Linked DNA regions of Homo sapiens: region 1 is linked to region 2. Evidence: promoter capture Hi-C in 16 types of primary human blood cells and fetal thymus (Javierre and others, 2016). All regions are on one chromosome and are shown on one strand. The core of a region is centred on a gene start or on the middle of the fragment in contact, and the rest is flanking DNA. Distances in the headings are between cores, read along the strand shown. Region 1 overlaps TNFRSF10B (TNF receptor superfamily member 10b). Region 2 holds the start of EGR3 (early growth response 3).

Region 1 (3,579 bases), core at 1,062-3,561, 340 kb after region 2:
TTCAAGGGCCTTTTACCTCAGTAGAAGGACAACAACTGGGAAACAAATTCCTAGTTGTTGAATGATGTGGCACATAAGATATTCCTTCTCTTCTAAGATATTCTAAGATAAAAGATAAATTGTTGTATCTGCCACCCCCACCTCCCTACAACCAAGAAAATGACACAATGCCTAGTGTGCTTATTTTGATTTTGGTGGCAACATATTCCTCATTTGGGTGTGTTTCTCTGGCCTATTTATCAAGTCACCTAAAAATGTGCTAGTTTTGAGTGGTGCTCAGAACAAGAAAAGGCTCTGCAACAGGTCCAGGCTGCCGTAGACATTTTTCTGTCACTTGGGCCATACGACCCAGCAGACCCAACGGTGCTTGAAGTATTGGTGGCAGACAGCAATGCTGTTTTGAACCTTTAGTAGCCCACTCTAGGTCAACCACAGCACAGGCCCTTAGGTTTTGGAGCAAAGACTTGCCATCCTCTGCAGATAACTACTCTCCTTTTGAGAAACAGCTCTTGGCTTGTTTCTGGGCCTTAGTGCAGACTGAATGGTTAACCATAGGCCACCAAATTACTCTACGACCTGACTGCTCATCGTGAACTGAGTGTTATTTTGCCTACCAAGCCATAAGTTTGGGCACATACAGCCTAAAGTTTCCATTTCCATTTTCAAATGTAATTGGTATATATACAAAATTGGGCTTAAATAGGCCCTGAAGGCACAAGAAAGTTACATGAAGAAGTGGCCCAAGTGCCCATGATCCCCACTCCTGCAATATTACTTTCTTTTGCCTGGCCTGCACTTATGGCCTCATGAGGAATTCCCTATGGTCAGTTGCCAGAAGAAGGTTTACAGATGGTTCTGCACCACATACAGGTAACCCTTAGAAGTGGATGTTTGCAGCATCACATCCACTGTCTGGGACGTCCCTGAAGGACAGTGGTGAAAAGAAATCCGCTAGGCCGGGTGTGGTGGCTCACACCTGTAATCCCAGCACTTTGGGAGGCCGAGGTGAGTGGATCACCTGAGGTCAGGAGTTCGAGACTGGCCTGACCAACATGGTGAAACCTCGTCTCTACTAAAAATACAAAATTACCGAGCATGGTGGCACATGCCTGTAATCCCAGTTACTTGGGAGGCTGAGGCAGGGGAATCACTTGAACCCGGGAGGCAGAGGTTGTAGTGAGCCGAGGTCGCCCCATTGCACTCTAGCCCGGGCAACAATAGCGAAACTCCGTCTCAAAAAAAAGAGATCCTGCCACTGGGCAGAACTCTGAGCAGTACACCTGGTTGTTCATTTTGCTTGAGGGAAGAATGGCTAGACATGTAGTTATATACTGATTCATGAGCTGTGGTCAATGATTTGGCTGGAGGGTCAGAGGCTCTGAAGGAAAACTGATAACAAGGAAGTCTGGGGAAGAGGTGTGTGGATAGACCTTTCTCAATGGGTAAAAAAACCATGAAGATATTTGTGCCCCATGTGACACAAATATCTTCACAAAAAGTGATCTTAGCAGGGAAGGATTTTAATAATCAGGTGGATAGGATGACCTGTTCTGTGACTACCAGTCAGCTTCTTTCCCAGCCATCCTTGTCATCACTCAATGGGCTCATGAACAAAGTGTGCATGGTGGCAGGGATGGAGGTTATGTATGGGCTTAACAATACAGACTTCCCTCACCAAGGCCAACCTGGCTACAGCTGCTACTGAGTGCCCAATCTATAGGCAGCAGAGTCCAACACTGAGTCTCTGATATAGCACCATTCAGAGGGTCAGTCTGCCAGCTACCTGGTGGCAGGTTGATTATTACACTGAACCATTTCTATCATGGAGGGGGCAGCATTTTTACTGGAAGAGAAGCTTATTTTGCACATAGACTTGCCTTCCCTGCATGCAATGCTTCTGTCAAAACTATCCTCTGTGGACTCACAGAATGCCTTATCCACAGTCATGGTATTCACACAGCATTGCTTCTGATTGAGGGACTCACTTGATGGCAAATGAAGCGCCCACTATAATGGGCCTGTGCTCATGGAATTACTGGTCTTACCATGTTCCCCACCATCTCAAAACTGCTGGCTTGGTAAGATGGTGGGATATGGCTTTTTGAAAACTCATTTACAATGTCAGCTGGGTGGCAGTACCTTGAAGGGCTGCAACAAGGTTCTCCAGGAGACTGTCTATGCTCTGAATTATCCTCCAATACATGCGGTTGCTTCTTCCATTGCTAGGATTCATGTGTCCAGGAATCTAGGGGTGGAAGCAGGAATGGCCCCACTCCACATTACCCTTAGTGGCCTGTTATCAAAATTTTTGCTGCTTTATGCTTTGCTAGAGCTCTGAGTTTCAGAGGGAGGAATGATTCCATGAGGAGACACAACAGTGATTCTGTGTAACTTGAAGACTGCCACTTGGCCACTTTGGGTTCCTCATGCCTCTGAATCAACAGGCGAAAACCAGTTACACAAACCCTGCTGGCTGGATTGACTGATTCTGAACACAAAGGGGAAATTGAAGGGAAAATTGGACTGTTATTCCACAATGGACGTAAGGAAGAGGATGTCTAGAATACAGGAGATTCCTTAGGGCATCTCTTAGTATTACCATGCCCTGTGAGTAAAGTCAATGGAAAACTACCACGACCCTATTAAAGCAGGACCACTTATAGCTCAGACCCTTCAGGAATAAAGGTTAGTTCACTCTACCAGGCACAGAGCCATGACCAGCTGAGGTGCTTAGTGAGGGCACAGGGAATACAGAATGCACAGCGAAAGAAGCTTCTTATAAATACCAGCTACAATGACATGACCAGCTATGGAAATAAGGACTGTAATCATTATAAGTATTTCTTCCTTATTGTGTTATGTGTGTGTGTTTATGTGTAAATATATGTTAAGCGAATATCTGTGTTTTCTTCCTTCTCTTATCCCCTTGTTATGTAACACAAGATATTTTGAATTTATATCATAGTATTTAAGTATTGTTCACTTTATAGTATTTATGTTCCAGGGTATCAAGGAAAGGAGTAAACACCACTCAAGAACTTTGCATCCTCTTCTGGAGAAAGGGTTAGTGCGTTTTCAGTTGTATACAGGATAGCTGTATTATGTTAGGTGGAAATATAATCTTATTATTTCCATTACTTGGAGATCAAGTATGGTTTAAAAGAATTTCAAATCTTTAAAAATTCTGTATTAGTCAGGGCTCTCTAGAGCAGGGGTCTCCAACATTTTTGCCACCAGGGACTGGTTTCCTGAAAGACAATTTTTCCACGGACTGGAGTTGGGGGCATGGGGATGGTTTCAGGATGATTCAAGCATGTTACATTTATTGTGCACTTTATTTCTATCACTATTATATGGTAACATATAATGAAATAATTATACAACTCACTATAACGTAGAATCAGTGGAAGCCCTGAGTTTATTTTCCTGCAACTAGATGGTCCTATCTGGGGGTGATGGGAGACAGTGACAGATCATCAGGCATTAGATTCTCATAAGGAGTGCGCAACCTAGATCTCTCAAATGTGGAGTTCACAATAGGGTTCACGCTCCTATGAAGTCTAATGCTGCCGCTGATTT
Region 2 (3,555 bases), core at 21-2,520:
CCTCGCCCCGCGGGTGAACCCCCTCCTTCTCCCCGCCGTCCCCACACCCCCACGGCTTTGCTGAACGCCCCGGAAAGGCAGCGTCGCAGTACCTCTCCCACCGCGGGGACTCCACGCCGCACATGGCTCCATCCCGGGTGGGAGGCTGAGGGAGTAAGGGGGGAGAGCGCGGGTGAAAAAGACGCCGGGCTCCTCCCGGGAAGAGGGCGACAGCACCACGCCTTGCGCGTAGCCCGGCGATCGGGCCCCCTGCGTGGTGAGGGAGAACCCCAGAGCCGCTCGCACCTACCTCCCTCCGGTCGGCGGCTGCCCCCACCCGGGAGAACCGAAGCCTCTACCGTGGCGTCGCCAACCTAGCCTTCTCGATCGAGGAGGGCGGGAGGAGTGGGTGGGAAAAGCAACTCGCCCCCCGCAAAATTCCCAGCGCGCCCCCATCTCTCCATCCATTTATCTATCCACCCATCCACCCATCCATCCATCCATCCATCCATCCATCCATCCATCCATCACCAGGTCGTCCCCTCCTCCTCTTCCTCTCCCCTTCCTTCCTCGCTGCCTCGCCGCCTCCCCGCCGCCCTTACCTGTAGCCATCTGATTGTAATGGACTACCGAGTCGCTGCTGCCGGAGAAGAGGTTGAGCGCGCTGGGGATCTCCTCGGGGTACAGATTGTCAGGCAGTTGGTTTAGCAAACTGCTCATGGTCACCGGCAGCTTCTCGGCGAGTTTGCCGGTCATAGCACTCCCGAGCTGCCGCCGCCGCCGCCACCGCCGCCACCGCCGCCGCTCGCTCCTAACGCAGCTTCCAGGCAAGCGGCATCCGAGAGGCGATCCGTGGTGCAGGGGAAAAGCATGCGAGAGGGAAAGTTCGGGGGGAGGGGGGAGGGAAGAAGGGAAGGGATGGGCCAGGAGAGGGGATCTTCTCTTTTTTGGGGGGCGGGAGAGGGCCCCAGGGGGTAATCCTCTTGGGTGCCTCAGCTGGTGCGGTATGAGGCTGGGTCGTGGGGGGGGTGGGGCGTGTGCGGGGGGTGGGGTGGGGGCTGGGCTGGGGGGGGATCTCGGCTCAAGGGGGTCGGACGCGGCCTCAGTATTGATCTCACAAACAGACACGCGCCCGCCGCCCCCCCGCCCCCCGATCTGCCACCGCCACCGCCACCGCCACCGCCGCCGCCGCCGCCGCCGCCGCCGCCGCCTCTGCCGCCGCTGCCGCCGCTGCTACCACCACCACCAGCCCCGCCGCTTCCTAGCAAGCTCACTGCTGCCCAAAAGCTCCCAGCCAGGGAACTCCACCAGCCTATTTATCTGAGCCCCGGGAAAGCTCCGTGACGTAGCTGCCCATATATGGACAGACAAAGCCCAGCCGAAGGGGCGCGACGTCACAATGGAAGCTCCTCACAATGGAACATTAGAAAGCAGGAAGCGGGCCGCAGCCAACGTGCGGCGCCCGCACCGCTCGCGGCTCTTGAAAAAAAGAGAAGGGGAGAAGAAACAAGAAGAATGCGAGAAGAGAGAGGAAAGAAGGATACAGCTGCATGCAAAGCGCAAAGCGCGTAGCGTGGAGTCGAAACACCAGTAACTCATTGTGTGTGTTTATTTGAGGTTTGCGTTAGGAGAGCGCATTGGGGAGAGGTGGGCGGTGGGGTGGGGTTGTTTGCAAGTGGTCTCCAACACCCCAGCAGTTAGAAAGAGAGTTGAAAACATCTGGCGAAATCCCTTTGCAGCCCGGGAACTGCTGGGGAACCCGGAAGGCGTGCGTTGCGCCCCTGCTACCTCAGCGGCTCCAGCGTTCGGGATCCTATCCGAGATTAAGAGAAAGGGAGTGCTTCCCTTTGTGGGGGGAAGGAGGGGTGCGCGCAGGGTTGGGGGGGTGTTTCAACTTGTCAGAATTCCTTGGTCCAATATCCCAAGAACTTTTGTGCCAACTTCACTCTGATTCGCCGCCCCTGCCCCTCCCTGGGCCCCTGACCCGGCGCTGACTCTAGGCTGAGCGCAGTGGCGAGGAGATTCGGAGCACCCCAGCAGTTGCGCCAAAGACAAGAGCCCCATCCATATGGGGTCGAGGATGTGCGGTTTTCGTGGTGAAGAGGAAAGAATGAAGTTGAAGGGATAGATAAACACGTGCACTGAATCCCCAGTAAATTCCCTAACGGTTCCAAGCAGCCTCTGTGGCCACAGGATGGCAGGAGGGCCCAGCAGGCCCGGGCGCAGTCGCTGTCTACTGCTGCCTGCGAAGGGCCCGCCAGAGTTCCAGAAGGAGGACGCCGAACCCACAGTCTCTGAGCCACTGGGGGCCTCCCCTAGTCTCTGCCCTCCCCCTCGCCTTCCACAGGGCTGTCCCCATTGCTGCCTGCCGGCGCTCCGCAGTCAAGGGCGGCCTGTGTGCCGACCCGGAGCGCTTTCACCTCCCGGAGCGGCAGCAGATCCCGGGGGCGGCTGCTGTGCTCCCTGGGGCCTGCTCCCGAGGCGCGCGCAGCCGGCCCGCGGGCGAGGGGGAGGAGAGGGCGGGAGCATGGGGGTGCGACCCCAAATCACATCGGCTTGGCGGGGGAGGATTCCCTCCTCGGTGGCCGCGTGGGCGCGGTGAATCCCTCGTCCCCTCCTGGGGAGTCGGGGTTGGGGGAACGTGCATTTCTCGGGGGGAGTGGGAGTGTTGACAAGGAAGAAGAGAGGATCCCCGGGCCTCACGCCGTGGGAGGGCCACGCGGGCCGGGGACGTGTGGGAGGAACTCCCGAGCTGCACGTTGTGGTGGAGGTGGATGACAACCTCGCTCCCCTCCCCTCCCCTCCACTCAGTGGAGGGCTGGGGACCGGAGGGCCCGGCCTCCCCCCATCTTCTCCAGTTCTTAGGAAAGGAGGGATTCCCGCCTCCCGCGAGCCCCCTCTCTCCACCCCCGCCGCCTCTCCCGCCAGGCTCCCCACTCCTATACTAGGGAGCCACAGCGCCCCCCGGGCTGTCCTCCGCCAGCGCGGCTCAGGGAGGGAGAGCGCTGCAGCGGTCCCGCGCTCCGGTCAGAATCAGGGCAGGCTGCGCCTCCCGCCCCCGGCTCCCTCCCTTAGGGGGGGCGCGCGGCCGGTCGGGGGGCGTGGGCGGCGGTGTGAGCCGGGCTAGGTGCGGGAGGGGCCCGGGCGGCTGCGGGGAGGGTCGCAGGGCGGCGGGCCAAGCCGGGAAGAGCCATACAAGGAGCGGATCCGGTGACGCGCCGGCCGCGCCCCTTCTCCTTCTCGATTTGGCTGCAGATTCCGGTCCCAAGATTTGCATATTTTGGCATCCAGTGGAAAAGGAAAGAAGAACGGAACCCGCAGCCTTTAAAGGAACCGCACAGGCTGTAGCGTCACCCAGGGAGGCGGTGGGGGTGGGGGTGGGGGCCTGAAAAATTAGCCAGCGGCTCTGGCCTCTGGCCGTAGAGCCCGGCAGCAGGGAGGGCCAGGGAGGGGCGGCAACCAGCGAGCTTCGGGCGCGCCAGTCCCAGACCTGGCCCCTCCAGAGTGCTTCCTGCTGCGCGTGCACCCGGAGGCTGCGGAGGGTCTCCACGGGTTCCTGCCTGGGGCCGGGAGACG

The links. The method cuts DNA at HindIII sites, captures the fragments that hold promoters and counts their contacts. A CHiCAGO score of 5 or more calls a contact.
Region 1: a contact is called between a fragment that was not itself captured here and the fragment with the promoter of EGR3 in region 2, in 1 of 17 cell types (M0 macrophages). The highest score is 5.0, in M0 macrophages.

The regions. Positions count from the first base shown.
Region 1 is chr8:23,035,609-23,039,187 of GRCh38, forward strand. The region is part of intron 2 of TNFRSF10B (TNF receptor superfamily member 10b); the gene reads right to left. Among named protein-coding and RNA genes, the nearest start is that of TNFRSF10B, 32 kb to the right of the region's middle. The HindIII fragment of the contact is 917 bases long and covers 1,854-2,770 here.
Region 2 is chr8:22,692,210-22,695,764 of GRCh38, forward strand. It overlaps EGR3 (early growth response 3), which reads right to left and starts at 1,271. Exons shown (of 2, transcript NM_004430.3): 1 at 582-1,271. The coding sequence starts at 735. It overlaps LOC105379321 (a long non-coding RNA gene), which reads left to right and starts at 2,648. Exons shown (of 3, transcript XR_001745832.2): 1 at 2,648-3,005; 2 at 3,235-3,323. RefSeq lists silencers at 301-370, 1,233-1,352, 1,297-1,460, 2,343-2,562, 2,693-3,272 and 1 more and enhancers at 1,505-2,150, 1,983-2,092, 2,133-2,232. The HindIII fragment of the contact is 8,376 bases long and covers 1-3,555 here.